Linked DNA regions of Homo sapiens: all the other regions are linked to region 1. Evidence: promoter capture Hi-C in 16 types of primary human blood cells and fetal thymus (Javierre and others, 2016). All regions are on one chromosome and are shown on one strand. Each heading gives the region's core, a stretch centred on a gene start or on the middle of the fragment in contact. The rest is flanking DNA. Distances are from core to core; before and after follow the strand shown. Region 1 holds the start of ZNF703 (zinc finger protein 703). Region 2 has its middle 330 kb from the start of LINC01605. Region 3 has its middle 360 kb from the start of LINC01605. Region 4 holds the start of LSM1 (LSM1 homolog, mRNA degradation associated). Region 5 has its middle 400 kb from the start of LINC01605. Region 6 has its middle 380 kb from the start of LINC01605. Region 7 has its middle 300 kb from the start of LINC01605.

Region 1 (2,918 bases), core at 332-2,831:
AATTACAGCTTGTGTAATTTCTAAGCATTCTATAAGTGCTGCCCAAAATACAGTATGGATCCAGGGAGTGCACTTAGTTTTGGGTATGACTGATACTGCCTGGAAGTGGGGTCTGCTGTCTTCTACTACTGGGCAAGATACAGATTCGTGATAGCTATTTCTTTCTGTTTGAAGAGCTCCTTTGAAATCACCTCTCCCCATCTTGGGTTCTCAGGTCATCTCAAGGCGTCGGTCAGCGCGGCAGAGTCGGGAACCTGCCATCCTAGAGCAATACGCCCCGAGTGACAGCCCTGACAACCGGAGTGATGGATCGGGACTGGAAAAGTGGTGCTGGGAGCCAGGCAGTGACACCAGCGCGCCTCCACTGGCCGCCGAGCGCACGGAGAAGTGGGCTCCCCAGAGTTCGGCACCCAAAGGACCAACTTCGCCTCCGGAAAAGCGGCGGATCCGGAACTTGGATGTCAGGACTATGACTACGTAAAATCTCTGCCCAGGGCGAAGCTAGCAATGCACACTGTATCAGAAAGGCGCAGGGAGTCGGGAAGGGTATTGTTATTTTTAATTAAAAGTTTTTATCCCGAAATTTGCCTGGGGAAAGCAAGTGCTTTTTCCCCCGGAGTGAGAAGGATGGGGGGGCGGAGGGGTTGTGTTGCCGAGCAGCGCTTAGAGAGAGATCCCCCTCCAGGGACACCCGCCTCGCCCGTGATCTCGGTCTCTCCTCGTAGCAGCTGGGCGCGGTACAGTGAGGAACTTCACGCCCCTCAGCAGGACACGGTAAGAAGCCTGTAACACACCAGACACCGAGCCTCTAACGCAGGGCGCAGGCACAGCGCGCACAGCCTGGGGTCCCGCGCTTGGTCGCCGACCATGTCACTCCAGAAGGGAGACAAACTTGCAGGCTTCAGACAAGACGGGCTCAAAGTAGTTGGAGCTGCCTACGCCGCGTCCCGAGAACAGTGGGTGCCTCCGAGGCTCGGGCGCTTCCAAGTGAACACACCAAGGGGAGGCCAAGTAGGGGAAGGAGAGCGGGGCCGAGGAGAGCCGGAGCAGCTCTGGAGAAGGACCCGGGCTCCCGAGGCGAGGCCTGCCCCCAGGCGGCCTCTGGGAGAGGCTTGAACTCCAGCGTCCCAGAGCCCGCGCCGTGCGATCCCTCCCACCCCACCCCACCCCACCCCACCCCACCTCGGACACACACGGCGGGCGGGGTTACAGCCCCCGCCAGCATCACCCCCCACCCACCCAGTGGTGAGAAGGGAGAGAGGAGAGAGAGCGGCCGGAAAGGAGGACGGGGCGCAGAGCTCAGGGTCCCGGAGAAGTCCCGTCCCAGGCGGGGGACCCCAGGGCGAGGAAGGCCCAGTCGGGGGGAGGGGAGGAATCCCGGGAGCGGCCGAGACCGAGGCAGCGGCGGCGCGCGGCGCGGCCCCTTTAAGGCTCTCCCCGCCCACCGATGGAGCCGGCCTCAGCCCGCCGCTCTCCCCGCCCCGGGGTCCCGGCGAGAGCTGCGATTGGGCGGGCGCGGCGATCCCTTTGAAGTGTGGCTGCCGATCGCGGCTATTTGACGTGCGGCTCGAGGAAGGCGAAGGTTTTTGTGTTGCTAGCCGGGGCCAGCGGCGGTGGCGGCGGCGGCGGAGGCGTCGGTGGAGGAGGGGAGGCGGCGAGGAGGCGCAGCTCCCGCTGCACCGCGATCGACGCTGCGGAGCGAGCCCACCCGCCCCGGGAGCTCGCCTCCCCGGTGCTCCCCCGCCCTCCCCGCCCCCCCAGCGGCGCTGCCTCCTCCAAATGAGCGATTCGCCCGCTGGATCTAACCCAAGGACACCCGAAAGCAGCGGCAGCGGCAGCGGCGGCGGCGGGAAGAGGCCGGCGGTGCCGGCAGCGGTGTCCCTCTTGCCACCGGCGGACCCCCTGCGCCAGGCGAACCGGCTCCCGATCAGGGTCCTGAAGATGCTGAGCGCTCACACCGGTCACCTCCTGCACCCGGAGTACCTGCAGCCGCTGTCCTCCACTCCCGTCAGCCCCATTGAGGTCAGTCCCCGGCCGCTGCCCCCGGGCGCCGGCCCCATTCCTCCCACCGCGACCGGGACCCTGACCCAGCTCCCAGCGCCCCGGGGCTCGGTGCGACACCCAAGTCTGGTCACGCTGGCGGGCTGAGTGAGGAGGGGAAGAAAACCGAGGGATCAGAGCCCACCAGGGCTTCCCCAGGCTTCCCCGTGGAAGGGTCTCCTTCCACGCTCGCCCTTCGGAGCTCCGTGTTTTCTCTCGGATTGGATTTGCTCCTGGAGTCCCCTCTGGGTCCTTTACTTTTCCTCTGATCCCCAGTTTCCAGCCAGGAGTTGGTCTCTGCTGGGTCTTCCCCGCCCCCCACGCCGGGCTGTTTTCTTTGAAGCCCTGGCTGCCCGGGTCCCACTTCGCCTCTGTCCCATCCGGTGAGGGCGCACGGCGCCCTGGCGCTCCCGATCCCGGATCTTTCTTCCTGCCTCTTCCCTGGGTGCCCTCCCCGGGAGGGAGGGGCTACGGAGAGAGCGCCAACTGCAGCCCCTCCTTTAGAATCCGCGCTCCCCTCTCCTACCCCGCGGCGCCATCGCCAGAAACCCGTCCCAAGCGAAGTTCCCCCAAACTAAAGGAATAAGTTTTTTCCTGGGCCTGGAGGAGGGGGACATTAGAGGGAAGTGGCGAGTCACAGCCCCGACTCCAGAGACGTCACCTTCTCCCGCAGGGGTCCTGGGTGAACTCCTTCCGCAGGGCCTGCGGCGCACCCCGGGACCCAGCGGCAGTGTGGGCGCAGTTCCGCCAGCTGCCGCGCCCGGCCCGGCCCTCGCTCGCAGACCCTCTCCCCAGGCCCGCCCCGCCCCGTGGCGCCGCCGCCCAGCTCCCCGGGCGCCCCCGCTCGCCCCGCAGGCCTCTGAGTCTCACTCCTTCTC
Region 2 (2,817 bases), core at 233-2,732, 420 kb before region 1:
CAATTCAAGTTAGAAGTTAAATCATAGGATACAAGTGCCGGTTATTAAAAGGCAGAACTGCATAACAAGCATCCCCAACCTGTTGTGGGCTTCCTACCAGGCCTTCTTTTAGCCCTCCATCTTGCCAGGCCATCACCCAAAATGCCAGTGAGAACTTGTCCCTCCTCACTTCCCCACCTGGCTTCTCCATCACCTCTTCATGGAGTCTTTCTGAAAAGTCACTGCCCCATGTTTGTCTCTTCTCTTGCTCACCTTCCTCTACAGGCTTAAAGGGAGACCCAGGAAGCAATGACACCTGGAAGGTTCTGTTTGGTCTTACTCCCTTCTTGGATTGTTGAACTACAAATGCCACATTTTCTCCTTCAAGCTTGGTCTTGCCTTCCTCTTTCTACCATAGAAACAGGCAACAATACATAAATTGAGTTTTTCTGGTAATAAAAAAATACACTTTTACATTCATTGTAAATTTTGGAAAGTATAGGCAAGTATAAAGAAAGTAATAAACACCAGTGTCAAGCATAGATGATAAATAGACAGATGATAGGTAAATGATAGATAGATAGATAGATAGATAGATAGATAGATAGATAGATGATAGAATGATAGATAATAGATATTCAAAACTGGATATATAGCTTTGTATTTTGTTTGTGTGTTTATTTCCACTTAAGATCCCAATATGAGCATTTTCCCATACCCTTAAAACATTATTTGAAAACAATGGTTTTTAATGGTTTTTATTATCATCATTAATGGAATAACGATAGTATTCCATTGAATGGATTTAACCATAAATTATCTAACTATTCCCATATGTTGGATTTTAAGGTTATTTCTAATTGTTAGCTATTACAAACAATGCTGCAATACAAATCCTGTACATAAATCATTTTCTAGTATTATTTTCTAAGGTTAAATTCTTAGAAATGGAATTTCTTGGTCAAAGTGTATATAGGATTTAAGGCTATTACATTCCTCTTTATCACTACAAATGCTCTACAGTTCGTTGATCAGCTAAAGACATATTGCTAAACATTACAATGACTCTCCATGAGGATGTGCCTTGTCTCCCCAACTGGCCATAAGCATCCCCCCAAGGCACCTTGCACAGTGGTCAGCAGATGGGTAGTGAGTGAGCAAATTGGGACCACTAGACTTAGGGGAATCTTTTTCCCACCAGAGGAGTCCAGTATCACACAGGATTCTCTTTGATATCCATCCCAGGGAGTTTAGTTGCCAAAGTTCCAAGAAGACCTCATTATTACTTGGCCTTGCCTACAAAGTAATCCCGCACCATAATTTTCAGGTCTTGATGAATCCATCTCCGCCTAAAGAAGAGTTTCCTGACTGTCTGAGTTACGCCAAAATAAAATAGGCTTCCCTAAAAGTTGGTGAGTGAGTACCATGGGACAGGGATGCTGCTCCAGGGATTCAGCCTGAGATGAGATTTGAGCACCATTCAATCCTGAGATCCAGGGATTCCTCGTGATGGTTGATTCTCGTAACCCCAAAGTACAGGAGCCTACACTGAGGTCTTTCTCAGTAAATGCTGTTGACTGGATGACAGACAGACTCAGACCAACTCAACAACTGACAGAAATGGGTTGAAGGCAAAATCAATGGGGTTCACAAACCTAAGGTGCCTGTTAAATCTTCCTGCTCAGTATCAGTTACCTGATGGTTGCGTAAATCTTTTAAAACAGCTCTCATATTTCATTTCATCTGTGGCTGTACTGCAGGAATGAGTGAGTGCTATCTATTGCCTCCCACTTGCCAAATTCCACCCACGGAGGCTTCAGGACACAGAAGGGCTAGAGAGTAGTGCATGGAAGTCAGGGACCAGATTCTTCCACAGCTGAAGGAATCCGCCATGTCCAACCAGAATGCAGTTTGAGAAACGCCACATAATTGCACTAATTCAGACTCACAGCAGCCAAATGATGGGCCACTGTGAACTCATTTCTTTTTTAATCCTTAACTGATGTAAGAGAAATTCAGTATAACTGTAAGTATGTACCGATAACCAGAGCCAAGCTAATGGCTTGCTTGTCTGGGAGGTACCGAGGGAGCCTGCTCTGGGGTAGGAGTGTATTGTAAGCAATGAGCCGCTGTTCGGTAAGTGGGTGCTTGGGAAGTGTGTTGACGCTTCCTCTAATAAACAGCTTGTTTGATTTTTTTAAATGCCCCCTTTCTATTTATTTAAACTCAGGTCTATTTGCACCACTTTGAATCTACATGTGTTGAGTGAAGAATTCCTTTCCGAATTGTCATGGCTCTGAGTTGAGGTCAGAGTTAACTAGGTTTATCTAAGCCTGTAAGGTCTTCCCAGTTCCTAGGTGTGACATGGAGGACAAGGACCCTACGCTCTGTCTCCCCAGCACTGCATAGCCTTGCCAAAAGAGACAGAGAAGGTTGTAATTAATGTGGCGCTATTATCCTTAGCAAGCTAGGAGAGGATCAAAGGAGCAGGAACCTGCAGCCCTCCTGATTTCGTCAGCAGAGTTGGTAGGGGAATGGAAGGGAAAGAGCTTTGCTTGTGTTAATTAATAACAACCTCTGCAGCTCTCCCCCGGGAAAGGTGGCGACCAAAGCAATCTCAAGCTTGGGGGCATTGCAGGCAATTCTTGGGGCTATTCTCTTTTAGCACCTTGTTGCCTTTGTCTTCTACTGTGTAGAAATAAATGATGTGCTCTGGACAGCAATTTTGCTGCAATTTTCTCAACCGCCAAGCCCCTGGGGACTCCTGATCTTCCTGCCAAATACCTCAGTCCTCCTCATCATATTCAGAGCCACACTGGGGCATTTACTGAGTGAGAT
Region 3 (2,903 bases), core at 347-2,846, 450 kb before region 1:
CATCATTTTTCCAGCACTGGCTGCCCTTGAGCTCAGGTGCAGTCAGGTGGACTTTCTTGTGATTTCTTCCCTTGGATTCTCCCATGTGGTATCTGCTTTTCCCACCCCAAAGTCACAGAATTATAGAACCTATAGATAGGTTATGTCATCTGGTCTCTAAATCTCCTCATCAACAAAGATTGTCCAGGCACTGCTCAGAGGTCTTCAGGGATGGGGCATTTGCTACCCAGGCAGCACAGTCTATCTGGTCTTAACTTTTGAGTGTGGTGTGTAATAACATCTTCATATTTTACCTCATGTGGCTTACAGTCCCAGAAGCTTCTGTTACCTTGCCACCCTTACCTCTGGTAGACAGCAGCCAAGGCTTTTTTTAAGTTCCTTCGCTTCAGGGAAGGAACAGCAGAATCAAAGAGTCAAATTTATGGCTGAAGTTTCAAAAGCCAAGGTCTAAACAATGAGGCAAAGATTGAAAAGACTCTGAGATTAGTCTAAGCCAGGTTTCCCCCCATCAAAAAAAAAAAAACACGTAAATAAATGATTCTATATTCTTAAACTGAGAGGAAGGAAACCATGGGTCCAAGAGAAAAGGAAGGAAATGTAGGTGCTGGGAAGTCCCCAAGAAGAGACTGTCACCTGGGCCAACTCTGGCTGGGATGACAGACTTTCCAGATTAGAGCAAAGGCAGAAAGATGCCTTTCCCCGCCCCACTCCAATACCTTCCAACTCTGTGATAGAGCCAAAGGGCCCAGCAAGACTCCCCTCAAAATCCCCCCAACTTCTGTCAACACAGAACCCTGTGCTGGAAGCAGGAGGGAAGGGAGGAGGGGAGGGCACAGGCAGACGGGCCTGGACAACCTCACAGAGAACCTCACGTGTTCTCCACACAGCCACAAGTGGCATGAATGTGGCACAGACAGCCAGCAAACGGGACAAGCTGGGAACAAAGAAGACCTTGCAGAGAACTTCTTGGACTGAAGACCGAAGGCCGATGGGAATGAGGACACCCCTAATGGATGCCAACACAGAGGGATGATGGCAATCCAGACAGAGGCCCCCACCCCTTCCAGCCTCTGCTCTCTGTTAAAATCCCTGCAACTTATACACTACCTGGGGGAAGGTGAATGTGTTAGGCTTCAAACTGCGATTTGGGTGTTTTTAGCCCAAGCACTGTGATATCATCATAGAATTAAGTTTTGCTCAATGCAGAGATTCCCTAAAGAAATAAAAGTAGAAGTATCATTTGATTCAGCAATCCCACTACTGGGTATCCACCCAGAGGAAAAGAAATCATTATATGAAAAAGATACTTGCACACACATGTTTATAGCAGCACAATTCACAACTGCAAAAACATGGAACCAACCCAAATGCCCATCAATCATCCAGTGGATAAAGAAACAGTGGTATACATATACAATGGAATATTACTCAGTCATAAAAAGGAATGAACTAATGGCATTTGCAGTGACCTGGATGAGATTGGAGACTATTGTTCTAAGTGAAGTAACTCAGGAGTGGAAAACCAAACATCATATGTTTACACTCATAAGTGGGAGCTAAGCTATGAGGGTGCAAAGGCATAAGAATGACACAGTGGACTTTGGGGACTCGGGGGAAAGGGTGGGAAGGGGATGAGGGATAAAAGACTACAAATAGGGCACAGTGTATACTGCTCAGGTGATGGGTGCATCAAAATCTCACAAATCCCCACTAAAGGACTTACTCATGTTACCAAATACCACCTGTACCCCAATAACCTACAGAAATAAAAAATTTTTTTAAAGTGACACTTGTGACTATTAGCAATTCATATATATATATATAATCATAATTTTTCATTTAAAAATTAAGTTTTGCTATAGAAAATTTTAAAAATTGTATTTCTTAAAAAAAATTAGCCAGGTATAGTGGCAGGCACCTGTAGTCCCAGCTACTTAGGAGGCTGAGGCAGGAGAATGGCATGAACCCGGGAGGTGGAGCTTGCAGTGAGCAGAGATCATGCTACTGCACTCCAGCCTGGGCAACAGAGCAAGACTCCATCTCAAAAAAAAAAATTGTATTTCTTGTCCATCTGGGTTTGTGGATTGAGGTTTGTGTCTGCTATGACTATTAGGAAATATTGTCCTTTTAGGATAACATAGGTCTCCTTCTACTCCATCGATTGCTCCTAATTCTCTCCCTACCATCTGAAGACAAAGAGAACAAACCTTCTACATCAGCACTAACAAACAGTGGTGCATGGATAGATGTGAGTTCATACACTGTTTGCTATCTGGCCTCCGTGAGCACAAAGATGAAAGGAACAGTTTCCAAAATGTTATAGCAACTGGACATTGGTCACCAAGCACGTGACCAGTGGACATGCCTTGTGGAACACAATATAGACACAATCAGATGTCAAACTTACGTGATAAGCGGATTGTGATGTGAGCTCCATGCTAGTTATAAACAGTAAAACCGTGTATCAAAGGATGAGAAGTTTTTTTTTTTAACCGTTCCTTTGCCATGAATAATTGAAAATTGAGATGCACTATTTTACCTAAAATTGCTGGAAATCCTCAAAGAAAGCAACTGAGAGCCTCCCAGCCACCTCACTCTTTTCTCCCACAAACTAAAGAACCAAGGTTCCTTTCATGATCCTGCTTGTCATAGTTTCAGCCCCCTAAGAGGCTGGTCATTTAGTTCTAGCTGTTATCCAGGAAATTGGCATGGGGGCAGTGGAGGGGTGGGCCTAGAGCTACAAGACTCCTGTTTCTCCTCAGTTTTTTTCAGTTTCCCAGCTCTAGAGTTTCTCTTTGGAGAGACTCTAACCCTGGTTGGGTGGCCCCAGAGAAATGTGATTTGGGTCTGAACAGGCTCTTCCACAAGTCTCTTCAAAGCTTTTATGGTGAGATTCAATACAG
Region 4 (3,211 bases), core at 42-2,541, 480 kb after region 1:
TCCCGAGTAGCTGGGATTACAGGCACCGCCATAGTGCCCAGCTAATTGTAGGAACGGGGTTTCACCATGTTGGCTAGGCTGGTCTTGAACTCCCGACCTCAGGCGATCTGCCCGCCTCGGCCCCCCAAAGTGCTGGGATTACAGGCGTGAGCCACCGCGCCAGGCCCGTAAAATGAAATTTTAACCATAGATTCTAAATTGCGTATTCACAGAGTAACTGAGACGATTGCAACTTATTTAAAACTATGTGTAAATCATCTTGAAACAAGTTAATGAGAAAGATCACATGATTAAAACAATAAAAAATGTTGCTTGAGGAATAATGCACAGACGGAATTTAGAAAAAAGGAAAGCCAGAACAACTGCAGACGGTTCTTTTCGCTTTTGTATAGGACTGAGCTCCTCTTCCGGACAAAAACCAGGAATAAGGGAGGTCTTCTTAGTAAAAGCAAAAGTAAATTGTCTTAAAAAAAAAAAAAAGGTTGCAAGTGATTTGGTCTTTCCAGAAAAGTCAATACCATGTCTAACAGTGGTCTCTACTACAATAACCTGAAGGTGCTAATGACCCTCACAGTAAAATAAGCTAGCAAATGGCCACACCGTAGAGCGCCTACATTTACTGCCAATTAAGTCCAACTGCCGCTGTCTTAATATTTTCGCTTTTTAATGAATCCTCTCTCTAGGTATTCCGATCCATCCACCGGTAACACGCTGATACTTCGAAATACTGCAGGCAGGAGTGGACGGGGGAGAAGCCCCCCCCCTCCCCGGGCTTCTTTCGTGTTCGGGCCTCTGCTGCCGCGATCCACGGAAGCAAGAATGAGTTCCATCGCTTGGGGCTCACCAGCTAGAGGGCTGGCGGAGGCTGCGAGGGGCAGAAGTAGCAGCAGGCTACTGGGTGGGCAAGCGGTGTGTACCGCAGCTGTGGAGGACATCGACGCGGAACGCCCGGATTGAGCTCAGAACACACCGGCCCCGCCCGGGACTCATTCTACAAGCTTCTTCGGAAGAGGCGCCCGCCCGGGAGGAAGGGTCTAACCCCGGGCTCCACCGGGAGGAGATAAACTACTCACTGTCAATGTCCTCGATGAGGCTGGCGGTGCCAGGCATATAGTTCATTTTGAACTGAAATAATGCTGCAATGCACAGCGGCGGGAGGCCAGCGCGTCCAAAACCTCTTCCCTCCTACCGCAGTCGCCGCCTCGGTGGGACCAAGCCCGGAATCCCGACCGAGACCAGCACTTCTGCCCCGGCTTTCAGCCGCCGGGGGCTGCCGGAAGCTCCTCCATATTACCCTTACCCACTTCCTGTAACACGTGTGGGCCCCCAGGAAGAGGCGGGGCAGCCGTACCGTTGGGGGACACCCTTTCCCTGTTCCTGTTAAGTAGGTAAGAGGAAACTCCATTGGATAAATGGCGAGGAAACGTATACTCCCTCTTAAGGAACACGGTGTCTTCCTTCGTCTCCGGGTTCCCGAGACCCCAGAGTCACTGACCTCCGTCCCTCAGCTTTCGGGGTTCGGCAGCAGAAGGGGCGGGCCCGGGCCTGGGATTGGCTGGCGTCGTCCGACCCCCTTCGCTGCTCTCCATTCGCAATCGCCCGCGGGCGCCTGCGCGATGGGTCGGCCGTGGGGAGCGGGGCGGGAAGCGCTTCAGGGCAGCGGATCCCATGTCGGCCCTGAGGCGCTCGGGCTACGGCCCCAGTGACGGTCCGTCCTACGGCCGCTACTACGGGCCTGGGGGTGGAGATGTGCCGGTACACCCACCTCCACCCTTATATCCTCTTCGCCCTGAACCTCCCCAGCCTCCCATTTCCTGGCGGGTGCGCGGGGGCGGCCCGGCGGAGACCACCTGGCTGGGAGAAGGCGGAGGAGGCGATGGCTACTATCCCTCGGGAGGCGCCTGGCCAGAGCCTGGTCGAGCCGGAGGAAGCCACCAGGTAAGCTTTGCACCCTCTGTCCTTGCGGGGAGGTGAGGGCCCTTGGGGCTGGGGTTCGTAAAGGATCGGGTTTCATACTTGTTTTCCTTATGTGGAGGAGGGTGTGTTGCGGGGGGTGTTGGAGAGACCGAGACTAAGATCAGAGGTTGGGGGGACATGCTTGTGTTCCCTTTGCCCCTCCTTTTCTGCTTCGACCCCAAAAAATATGTTTATTACCATTTAAAAAAGAAAGATCCTGCGCGGACTTACTAAGCTTAGCAGCAGGCTGCAGATCTCTCTCCTGGGAGCGGTGCTGGGTAGGGGTGGCACGGATCTACTGCTCCAGCTCTAGCAATTTATCCTGCGTGGCTGGCAGGCCGGCTCTCCCGGGGAAGGGAAGTGGCTGCAGCCCCCGATGCCGCTCAGGGACCCTCCCGAGGGGAAGGAACCTTTGCGAGGAGGAGGGATCTGGGCATTTAGCTGTTTGCCCCTAATGCCTTGCCTGAGATCGAATCATGAATAATCAGTGTTGTAAAGTACCTTTACGCGGATTGACTGATTTAATTTTCACGGCGACTGCAAGGTAAAATGGCATTACAGCGGCCCTTTTTTTTGTTTTCGAATAAGGAACCGGGGCTCTGCGAGGTTAACTCACTTGCCTAATACACTTGGACCTGCAACATTTTATTCTCCGTTTTCCTGCCGGACATATACTTCTGCTTTGTTAATACAGTCTTCTGGGTAGTGGGTTGTCGTTCTGCGGTGGCAGCATACCTCTCTGTTCGTTCAAGAATTATCCTCATTTGTTGAAAATGTAATAGTGAAATTCTCGTACATTGCTGGTGGGGATGTAAAATGGTGGAAAATAGTTTGGTAGTTCCTCAAAACATTAAGCATTAGAATTAGTCTATGACCCAGCAAGCCCACTCCTGGCTATATACCCAAGAAAACTGATAACGTATGTTCACATAAAGCTTGTCCGCCCATGTTCATAGCATCATTATTCATAATCGCCAAAAAGTAGAAATGTCGTTTTTTTTGTTTTTTTTTTTTTTGAGTTGGAGTCTCGCTCTGTTGCCCAGGCTGGAGTGCAGTGGTGCCATCTCGGCTCACTGCAACCTCCGCCTCCCGGTTTAAGCGATTCTCCTGCCTCAGCCTCTCGAGTAGCTAGGATTACAGGCGCCGGCCATCACACCCGGCTAATTTTTGTATTTTTAGTACAGACGGGGTTTCGCCATGTTGGCCAGGATGGTCTTGAACTCCTGACCTCAAGTGATCCCCCTTTCCCCTGCCC
Region 5 (3,106 bases), core at 175-2,674, 500 kb before region 1:
TGAAAGAAAAAGACCAAAACAAAAACAAGCAAGCAAAACAGAAACAAGAAACTTGTTATAAATGAAGGCAATGCAGACAAGAGGAGAAAATTTGAAAAGAAAATTTAAACTCTGGTTAATCATTTCAAAAGGATAAAAGAAGATGTGCCTTCATGAAACAGGATCAGGGAACTCTTCAAAAATGAGGATGTTGAAATCAGTCCTCAGATCTTGACCATATAGCAAACCAGTTCAGGCTGTTGGTTCCTCCCTTCAATATCAACCTGAGAAATGAAAAACCCAGTGGTTCTCATTACTTCACATGCATGGGAATTACTTGGAAGGCTTGTTAAGCTAAGTTGGCTGGGTCTCACCCTCCATCAGCAGGAGAATATCAGGAAAGTGCGAAAGTGTTGTTGGGGTGAAGAGTGAGGAAAATAGGGGTTGACCAAGCAACTATTTTGGGTATTTACTCTCCGCCCAGGAATTCCTTGTTCTGAGAATTTAAAGCAAAACCCTGGTCAGAGAAAGTACCTAATAAGAGTGGGGGCAATTTTGAGTGACCAGCAATAATTCTGTAGGGTTTAACTGTCTTTACCACCTGGGGTTCATCATCTACCATCTCTTTAAACCCAGTGAGTAAAACACAGTCTACATGACATCAGTTCTTCCCCAAAGGGAAATATCCCCAAAGGAACTTGAGCCTACATGCCAGAATAACCACTCAAGGAGTACAACCACTCAAGGAGTACAACCACTCAAAAGAAAGGCAACTAAATAAAAAATGTCGACCATCTAAAGCCAAATGATTAGCTTAAGCAGATCAATAATTTAAATAGGCTTACCAAATAAAGATATAAGGGATAATATAAGCATAAAGAAAGAACCAAGTGGAAATATTATAGATGATAATGGAAATAAAGAATCAAATATTCAGCAATTTACATGATGGATAGAGCAAAAAAAAAAAAAAGAAAAAGAATTAAGGAGTTGTAAAATGTAACAGAAGAGCTTTTCCTGAAAGGAGCAGGAGATGGAAAACAATTTTTTAAAGTTAAGAAACTTGTCTAAAAGAAGGGTCAATAACAGTAAATAAGAATGAGGGGATAACACAGGAAGAAAATAAATAAATAAATTTTTGAATTCTCTCTTTTTTTTCTTTTTTTTTTTTGAGACGGAGTTTTGCTCTGTCACCCAGGCTGGAGTGCAATGGCATGATCTTGGCTCACTGCAACCTCCACGTCCCGGGTACAAGCGATTCTCCTGCCTCAGCCTCCCAAGTAGCTGGGACTACAGGTGTGTGCAACCACATCCAGGTAATTTTGTATTTTTAGTAGAGATGGGATTTCACCATGTTGGCCAGGCTGGTCTTGAACTCCTGACCTTGTGATCTGCCTGCCTTGGCCTCCAAAGTGCTGGGATTATAGGCATGAGCCACCGCGCCCAGCTAGAAAATACATTTTTGAAGCAATAATAAAGATGTGAACCAAATTTAGTGTTCTCAACATGTCAAGCCTTACCGACAATGCAAAGCAATAGAAACTCAAAGCAATAGAAACTGCTGGTGAGATATAACCTGGTTCAACCCGGTGGAAATACTTTGGCATTAAACATGCCAAACTAAAGTTAAATACGCACATAATCTACATTCTAGCAATTCCACCACTAGGCATTTACCTTAGAAAAATTCTCAAACATATGCGCCAAAAGATATGTAAAAGAATGCTTATGGCAGCACTATCCTTCACAGGAAAAATCCAGGAACTAAATATCAATAGACAGTGCAATGAATAAATAAATTGTGGTATAATCATACACTCGCATATACAGCAATGAAAATAAATGAATTATAGATTTAATTATTGACATGGATAGACCTCAAACACATAGTGCTCTAAATACACAGATATTTTAAAGAAAAGACTATTCCATTCATATCAAGGTCAAAATCAAACAAAACTAAATAATATATTGTTGAGGAATACCTATTAGATGGTAAAAAACTAAAACTAAAAAACAAAATTCAAGACAATGCTCATTTGCAGGAGAAGAGCGAGTGGGATGTGACAGGGCAATGCACCCAGGGTGCTTCTGAGTAGTTGGTGACATTCTATTTTGCGATCCTGGAAGTGGGTCTCTGGGTGATTTTTTTAAAAATTGTATTCAAACTGTGCGTGCATGTTTTTCATAAACTCATACCTATGTATACTATATTTTATAATAAAAAATTAAAAATAATAAAGATACATTTTCTAAAATTAAAGAAAGATGAAAGACATTGAATTGAAAGCAGAAGAGGTGGGAGTGTTCAGCAGAGCAAGTGGGAAATATGAACTAAGATGTGATAAATCCTAATATAATAGGCACTACTATAAGTGTAAATGGGTTAAACTCACCAGTCTAAATATTAAGTTTCAGACTGGGTTTTAAAAGAGATCTAGCAACATAATGTCTACAAGAAATATACTTAGAACCAAAAGAATGGAAAGGTTAAAAATGTAAAAATTGAAAAAAAAACTCCAAAAATATAAACCCCCCCAAAAAAGTGGGTTAACACTGTTAATACCAGAAGAAGTTGAATTTAATATTGAAACAGAAAATCCTAAGGGCTTAAGTAAAATATCATTTGCTAACCATTTTGAACATTAACACTCCTAACAATACAGTCTCAAAATATTGACCTAAGCAACAACTGACATAAATTAGAGAGAGAAAAAGGTAAATCAAAAATACCAACTGAAGATTTCAACAGACCCTTCCCAGAAACAAATAGATCAAGGAGACAAAATAAATGAAGGGAAATGTAAAAGATCTGAACAACAAAACAGTGTTTCAGCACTTACAGAACTCTGCAAGTGCACCCAAAACGTTTGTAAATCTAAATTGTATATTGGGTCATAAAAGAAACCTCATCAATTTTATAAAATCAGTCTTATATCAACTAAGCTTTTAAACCATCATGCAGTAAAATTTGATATCAATGACCAAGCAATCTTTCTTAAAACTTTCAAATGCTTGGAAATGAAGTAGTATATTACTAAATAATTATTGAGTTAAAAATTGATATAATGAATAAAATAACTAGAGCTAAATAATAAGAAAATTATGTCAAATTTATTATACAAAA
Region 6 (3,114 bases), core at 266-2,765, 470 kb before region 1:
AGCCGGTGGATACGCACTGACATTGATGATATTGCTGAATTAAACGAGGTGATGTATGCTCAACTTGCCTAGAGCCAGAAATGGACCTTGGGATCATTTTATAACCTGATGCAGATGATCCCAGGGCTTTCCTTTTCAAAGAAAACATGACACACATGGTGTTTCTAGTCAAAGAAAAAATACACGGTCCCCAGTGAAGGGAGCCATGTCTGTATGGAAATGAACAAAAGCATTTCCTGGGGAGACCTGAAGGAACAAATAAGACCCTCACATTTGGCAAACACCCCTCCATGCACTGCCAAGGCCTGTGGGGTTCACAATATTTAGATCTCAGACTTCACCAGAAAAAGACATTAATTGGTGACCCAGGCTCAGGACCATGAACATAAATCTGGTCAGAGTCTGCCTTTGGTGGCCACAAGATGTCACAGACTAGAGCACTTGAGTTGAAGTCAAGCACTGCATTTAAAGCCCACCTCTGCCATTTCCTAGCTGTGGCTTTGAGCAAGTACATACACTCCTCAGAGTCTTAGGTTTTTTAATGCAAATAGGATAGTGATACTAACAAAAGAGCCAACATGAGGTCGTGTGGGACGCTGCGTGCGCTAATACCCACAGATGGTTTCTTACATTTGTTCTCTCTTTCCTTTTCTTCTCCTAGAACCACGCCTCTCTCCCCGACCTCAACCATCTCCAAAGCAAGACATTACCTTCTCTACCCTTGCTGCCTATGCCAACAGTGATGGGGGTATTGCCCCAAAAGCCCATGGGGGCACCACATTCGCATGAGCAGAATTTGGCATAAAGTGTCTGGCTTAGACCTCCTCCAAGAGGAAGGATCTCAGGAGTTAGCAATTCCACAGTCAGTCCTGTGGCCTGGCCCCAACATCAAGTCTCTAATGCCCTCATAGGAAGCGAGTAGGGGCAGTTGCTCCTTGCTGAGAATCCGAGCAAGAGGATATGTGATCGATGCTTGGTGTCTGCCACTCTGAGATATTGAGCAGTTCACTTGCACTGTCTGGGCCTCAGCATCTTGTCCTGGTAAATGCCCCCATGAGAGTGGCTGATCTCCAAGCTCCCATTGGTCTTACTATCCAGGATTTGTGACTAATTTGGGAGAAGCTCCTCTCCAAGGCCACCACTTCCTCCTTTAGGAGAGGCTCTGGGCTCTGGCAATGAGGTGGTCCCTGCCTCTCAAAAGGTATATCAACAGGGGAGGCTTTCCAAAGGGCCAAGGTGTGGAGGAAATCAGGATTCAACATGTTCTCACTGCCATGACTAGCAATAGCTGCCATTTATTGAACACCTACTCTGGGTGCCAGGCACCAAGAGAATGGTTTTCTCCATTTTGCAAACAGAGATACTGAGGCTTCAAGAGATGAAGTGAGGCAATGAGGCCACACATCTGGAAAGAGACACAGCCAGGATTTGACTCTCAATTCCTCGTCTCTGCGGGTGGCAGGCTGCCCACTGATCTACCCTACCCAAGAGACACAGGTGACCCACATCACACTGAAGTATCAGCCGGTCTCAGATTTGGCATTAGAGCAATGCCTCCCTTCATCCCCAGGCATTCTGGAAAACTGCTAAGAAGCATAATGGAGTGTTTTACACTTCCCCTCCCACTCCAACACTCCTCCCCTCCCGTCTGCCCCTCACCACAGAAAAGGAGAGAATTAAACACAGGCAGTGAGGGAGGAAAGAAAGGACAGGACCCTGCACAATCGTCCCCCAAATAATCGATGACTGCATCCACAAGTACATATTAATCTATCACATATTAATAGAAATGACTGATGCACAGTGTGTGTGTGTATATATATCTACAAATCTACCACACACACACATGCACGCAAACACACGCACGCACGCACATGCATGCATACCCCTTAGATTGCTAGGTGCTCTTGGCAAGTAGGTGACTAGCTCTCTGATGCTTCCCTGTGATGGAAATTGAATTTAGGTTACAGAACATCATCTGGCCCAATTGCCACTGAATTATTCCACACAAAATATCAAAGTTAATTTTTGGGCCTGTCAGCCCAGTTGATGAGTTGGGCGGCTGTCAGCCCGGCTGCGCCTGCCTTCAGTGCCAGAGAAGAGTCTGAAAGTCATGCAATCCAAAACAGCGACCTTGGCGGGGGACGGGGGTTAGATTACCAGGATGATTAAACGCCAAGGAGAAGGTTCCGGAGTCAGGATTTGAATACCTGTTTACATGTAGGATAACAGATAGCCGCCCACTGACGGCAAGGTTGTAACTCACTCCCGGGAGGGCCGCCGCCACCATAAAACATGAAGGCCCCGCTCGGGAAGTCTGTGCCCTGGCAGCCAGGCCTGGGAGTGATTTAGGGCCCCGGATCCATTCTGAGACTATCTAATCTATTGTCTTTTATTACATGCACTACTCAGTCTCTCTCTCTCCTTCTTGCAACTTTTTTTTTCCTCCAAGAAGCATCAGCAATCTCATCTCCCTTAAAAAGAATGCTACTGGAAAGTGCTAGCTTAATTCAAAGATAGTGAGGGTTCTTTATGCCATAGTCCCATTAAAAAAAAATCCTAACTGTTCCCACTGTATAAATATGTATATTCCCTCCCAACCCCGCAGATCAACCAGGCCTTCTCCCCTGCCTGTCCATCCCAATGAGCAAACCCATCCTTGCTTCCACCTTTACCTCCGCCTGAAAATTCCCCTTCACCAAAAGCCAGCAGGGCCACTTCTTTGCTTCTTCTCTGACTAATTGTCTTGGGCCATCTGATGTTGAAATAATCCATAATTGCTTAATCTATCCGCGTCTGTGTGGCAAGAAACGGAAAAGCACTTTAGAAAGATCAATCATCTAAAATCATTGAGCAGCATATTGGAAGCAGGGTCGTCGCCTGCTCCCAGCTGAGAAAATGATGGTGGTAAGAGATAAAGGCTCGGAGAAGAGGCTGTCTCTGTCTCCATAGCTTTTTGATTCCGAGATAGATTACCAGGAGCACTAACTGCTCTCCGTTTGTGCTAAACAAAGATAATGGCATTGGAAGTCACAGCCACATAAATGATACGACAATCAAATAAGTGACCCCCTGCCCCCTCATCTCCTGCCGGCACTAGCACACTAATAGATG
Region 7 (3,219 bases), core at 264-2,763, 400 kb before region 1:
TGCCATTTTCCAGTGTTCATTTATCTTGGGATAATGTTGAACCAAAGAGCAGTTTTGGTCACACGTTATGTTGCATGTGTATATATCCCACACAGGGGTACCCCACCCAGGCCCAAATTATAACTAACTCACCAATGCCTAGCATCAACTTTTCATGCGGCCCAGAAACTTGAGTCAAGCTGATTTCCCCTCCAGCCCTATTCTGCACAGTCAATAGTGTCACTGGTGGTGAACAGTTCTGGCTTTCCAACATTTAACTGCAAAAGCTATGTCCCACCATGACACCCAGCCTCAGACAGTCATATTAAAAAATGGGGCCTGGGGCCAAGCATAGTGGCTCAAACCTGTAATCCCAGCACTTTGGGAGGCCAAGGAGGGCAGATCACTAGGGGCCAGGAGTTCAAGAACAGTCTGGCCACCATGGTGAAATCCCATCTCTAATAAGAATACCAAAAGTATCCTGGTGTGATGGTGCATGCCTGTAATTCCAGCTACTTGGGAGGCTGAGGCACAAGAACCACTTGAGCCCAGGAGGCAGGCAGAGGTTGCAGTGAGCCAAGATTGTGCCACTGCTCTCCAACCTGGGTGACAGAGTAAGACTCTCTCTCAAAGAAAAGAAAAGAAAATGGGATCTGGACCACCTCACATTGTTCGTTACCATTTGGTTGGCATTTACTGAGCAACCACTATGTGGCCAGTGGCATTCTAATCTCTGAGGGATCTAAAGACAGTAAAGACAGAGTCTTTGCCCCTCTTAAAAAACTGGCAAGAAAGGCAAAGATCAGAACTGCAATAGAGCTATGAAAACACAGAAAAGAACCACAGCTTGACCTTGGATGGGGGACATGACTCCAGAGAGGGCTTCTTGGTGGTGACAGCCCTTGACACAGGTGTGTGTGTGAATGTATATATGTATATATGTATGTATATGTGTATGTATGTATATATATGTGTATATATATAAATTAAAACTAGCCTGGTACACAAGGATGCAGAGGAAGGACTTTTGATGCAGAAGGATCTGCAGATTTGCAAATACAAAATTTCAGACAAAGAAGACTATGGAAAACATGAAAAAGAGCCAGAAAGCAACATGGCAGTAAAGAGGCTGTGCATGGGCTGTGGGCTCTAGGCTGTGGCCAGAAGACACCTGCAAACGTAGGGAAGGGCCAGGTTCATAGCTCTCTGCTATGCCAGGCTGAGGAGACTGAGACTGATTCAAAAATTGTTGGGAAACATCAGAGGATCTTAGGCTTGGCGGTCACATGATCACAATAGAATTTTAGATCATAATGGCATCAAAGTAATGAAGACCTAAACAGAGCTGGGGAGTCAGGCTGCAGAAGATCATTGTCATTTGGGGGCAGCATACCACACAATACTGTCCTCCACATCCCCATTTCCATCTTCCTATTAGCACCCTGATCTCCCTTTCAGTGGAAACTCCTTATTTTGTGTGGTCCTGAAGGGAGACCACTGCTGCTTTCTATCATAGAAGGGGCAAGATTCTCTGCCTCACCTGCCAGAGTAGCCAGGAGTGGACGACAGGCACAGTCAATCCAACACTCCCCTCTAGAAATGTTGACTTTTGAGTGGGTAACTAAACAGCACACTTTTCACAGGCTGTGGCAGATTGTATTTTCCAAAAATGACCACAGCAATATTTCCAATTCCACATGCTGTTCCACAGTCTTGCTACTCTCCAACAAGAGGTAGAGTTTATTTCTCCTCTGGAATCAAAGCAATGGAAGTAACACTGCAAGACTTCAGAGACTACATCATGAAAAGTGAGATGGCTTCCATCTGGCTCATTCTCTCTTGAGAGGCTTGCCCTGGGAACCTAGCCACCACGTTGCAGGGAAGCCCAGACCACACAGAGCAGCCATGTGTAGGTAGGTGTCCCGGCCAACAATCCCAGCTAAGATTCCAGCTGACAGCCAGCATTGACCATCAGACTTGTGAAGGAGGGAGCCTTTGGGAGACTTCAGGCCCCACCCTTCCAGCCACCCCAGCTAACTCCACGTAGAGCAAAGACAAGCTGCTCCCTGTAAGCCATGCCCAAATTGCCTATTCATGAGCAAAATAAACATTGTCATTTTAAGTAATTGAGTGCGGGGTGCTTTGTTCCACAGAAACAGATCACTGGAATGGGGACCTTGACTGAGGATCCAACTGTGTAATATTTAGAGGTCTCTTAACTCCTAGCTATTTTCTAGTCCTGACTTTCTGGTTTCCCCCTACTATTTTAAGCACAAAATATATTTGGCGACAGCAATACTGAGTTTCTGTTGCTTGCAACCACTACCCCCAGCCAAGGAAGGGCACACGGCCATGGTCCAGGGGAGGAATGCTGAGGGCCTGAGGATAGACATGGTGGGGAAGGTTTGGAGCTGATAAACATACAGGGCACAGAATCCACCAGGACTTGAGGAAGATACAGGAAATGATGGAGGCAAGAAGGCTTCTCAGATTTCTAACTGGACCACTGGGCAGATGTTCATGCCATTCAATGAGAAAGGTATTCCAAGGAGAGAAAGGAGCTTTCAGGGAACGAACACACGTAAACTCATTACAAGCGCGGTTATCAACCTGAAGATTTTGGGATACCAGTGGGAGGCACACATGGATCTGGAATACAGAAGGGTGCCACTGTAGCTTTCCAGCTTCCCCGCGTCACTTAGGACAGACAACGCTAGAAACCAGGAAGAGTCTACTAGGGATACAGAAATCTGAGGGAAGCTGAATGCTATCCCTGTTCATGCTAAATCTTTAACTTTCACAAGTGCGCTCCATCAGGGGTGGGGGCACATAGGGGTGTGTGCATGTGTCTGAAAAGGCATACAGGTGAATATTCATGCTTTCTCAGTCCGAGACTGAAAGGGGAGCTAGATCTTTCATTTATTTCCCACTCCTCCACAGCATCTTATGAACCTACTCTAAAGGTTAAGAACCGACTTAATATAAGCACAAGAATAACTGTGCATTTATGTAAAGCCTTCCTCCAAGGAGCTCTCGGCACTCTGCAGATAATGGACTTATTTATCCTTAGAGCACCTCTGTGAGGCAGTTACAGGACAGGGGTGACCAGGCTCATGTCATAAATAATGTCAGGAACAACACGAAGCCCAGCCAGCCTACAACTCTGAGGCTGAGCAAGATGGGGTGGGCCCAAGGTCACCCAGCAAGTTAGGAACAGGATGAGCCTCCGTGCTGTGATGG

Evidence for each region. Contacts are between HindIII fragments. The CHiCAGO score rates a contact against its expected background, and 5 or more counts as called.
Region 2: a contact is called between a fragment that was not itself captured here and the fragment with the promoter of ZNF703 in region 1, in 3 of 17 cell types (M1 macrophages, M2 macrophages and M0 macrophages). The highest score is 7.4, in M1 macrophages.
Region 3: a fragment that was not itself captured here is called in contact with the fragment with the promoter of ZNF703 in region 1 in 3 of 17 cell types (M0 macrophages, M1 macrophages and M2 macrophages); the score reaches 8.7 in M0 macrophages.
Region 4: a contact is called between the fragment with the promoter of LSM1 here and the fragment with the promoter of ZNF703 in region 1, in 8 of 17 cell types (activated CD4 T cells, neutrophils, naive CD8 T cells and 5 more). The highest score is 11.0, in activated CD4 T cells.
Region 5: a contact is called between a fragment that was not itself captured here and the fragment with the promoter of ZNF703 in region 1, in 9 of 17 cell types (naive CD4 T cells, M2 macrophages, M0 macrophages and 6 more). The highest score is 12.7, in naive CD4 T cells.
Region 6: a fragment that was not itself captured here is called in contact with the fragment with the promoter of ZNF703 in region 1 in 7 of 17 cell types (M0 macrophages, naive CD4 T cells, M2 macrophages and 4 more); the score reaches 13.4 in M0 macrophages.
Region 7: a contact is called between a fragment that was not itself captured here and the fragment with the promoter of ZNF703 in region 1, in 4 of 17 cell types (M0 macrophages, M2 macrophages, M1 macrophages and 1 more). The highest score is 9.3, in M0 macrophages.

Annotation. Positions count from the first base shown.
Region 1 is chr8:37,694,201-37,697,118 of GRCh38, forward strand. ZNF703 (zinc finger protein 703) reads left to right here and starts at 1,582. Exons shown (of 2, transcript NM_025069.3): 1 at 1,582-2,022. The coding sequence starts at 1,780. It overlaps LOC124901932 (a long non-coding RNA gene), which reads left to right. Exons shown (of 2, transcript XR_007060887.1): 2 at 215-583. It overlaps LOC124901933 (a long non-coding RNA gene), which reads right to left and starts at 1,481. Exons shown (of 2, transcript XR_007060888.1): 1 at 1,240-1,481; 2 at 545-783. RefSeq lists silencers at 221-405, 1,193-1,542, 1,593-1,692 and enhancers at 1,427-1,970, 1,971-2,513. The HindIII fragment of the contact is 16,475 bases long and covers 1-2,918 here.
Region 2 is chr8:37,272,061-37,274,877 of GRCh38, forward strand. No RefSeq gene overlaps it. Among named protein-coding and RNA genes, the nearest start is that of LINC01605, 330 kb to the right of the region's middle. The HindIII fragment of the contact is 2,234 bases long and covers 366-2,599 here.
Region 3 is chr8:37,240,137-37,243,039 of GRCh38, forward strand. No RefSeq gene overlaps it. Among named protein-coding and RNA genes, the nearest start is that of LINC01605, 360 kb to the right of the region's middle. The HindIII fragment of the contact is 2,561 bases long and covers 317-2,877 here.
Region 4 is chr8:38,175,202-38,178,412 of GRCh38, forward strand. It overlaps LSM1 (LSM1 homolog, mRNA degradation associated), which reads right to left and starts at 1,292. Exons shown (of 4, transcript NM_014462.3): 1 at 1,074-1,292. The coding sequence starts at 1,119. BAG4 (BAG cochaperone 4) reads left to right here and starts at 1,654. Exons shown (of 5, transcript NM_004874.4): 1 at 1,654-1,938. The coding sequence starts at 1,669. RefSeq lists enhancers at 260-1,117, 697-786, 1,118-1,975, 1,197-1,346, 2,257-2,596. The HindIII fragment of the contact is 945 bases long and covers 997-1,941 here.
Region 5 is chr8:37,196,632-37,199,737 of GRCh38, forward strand. No RefSeq gene overlaps it. Among named protein-coding and RNA genes, the nearest start is that of LINC01605, 400 kb to the right of the region's middle. The HindIII fragment of the contact is 2,998 bases long and covers 1-2,923 here.
Region 6 is chr8:37,222,750-37,225,863 of GRCh38, forward strand. No RefSeq gene overlaps it. Among named protein-coding and RNA genes, the nearest start is that of LINC01605, 380 kb to the right of the region's middle. The HindIII fragment of the contact is 3,506 bases long and covers 1-3,114 here.
Region 7 is chr8:37,299,059-37,302,277 of GRCh38, forward strand. No RefSeq gene overlaps it. Among named protein-coding and RNA genes, the nearest start is that of LINC01605, 300 kb to the right of the region's middle. The HindIII fragment of the contact is 4,577 bases long and covers 1-3,219 here.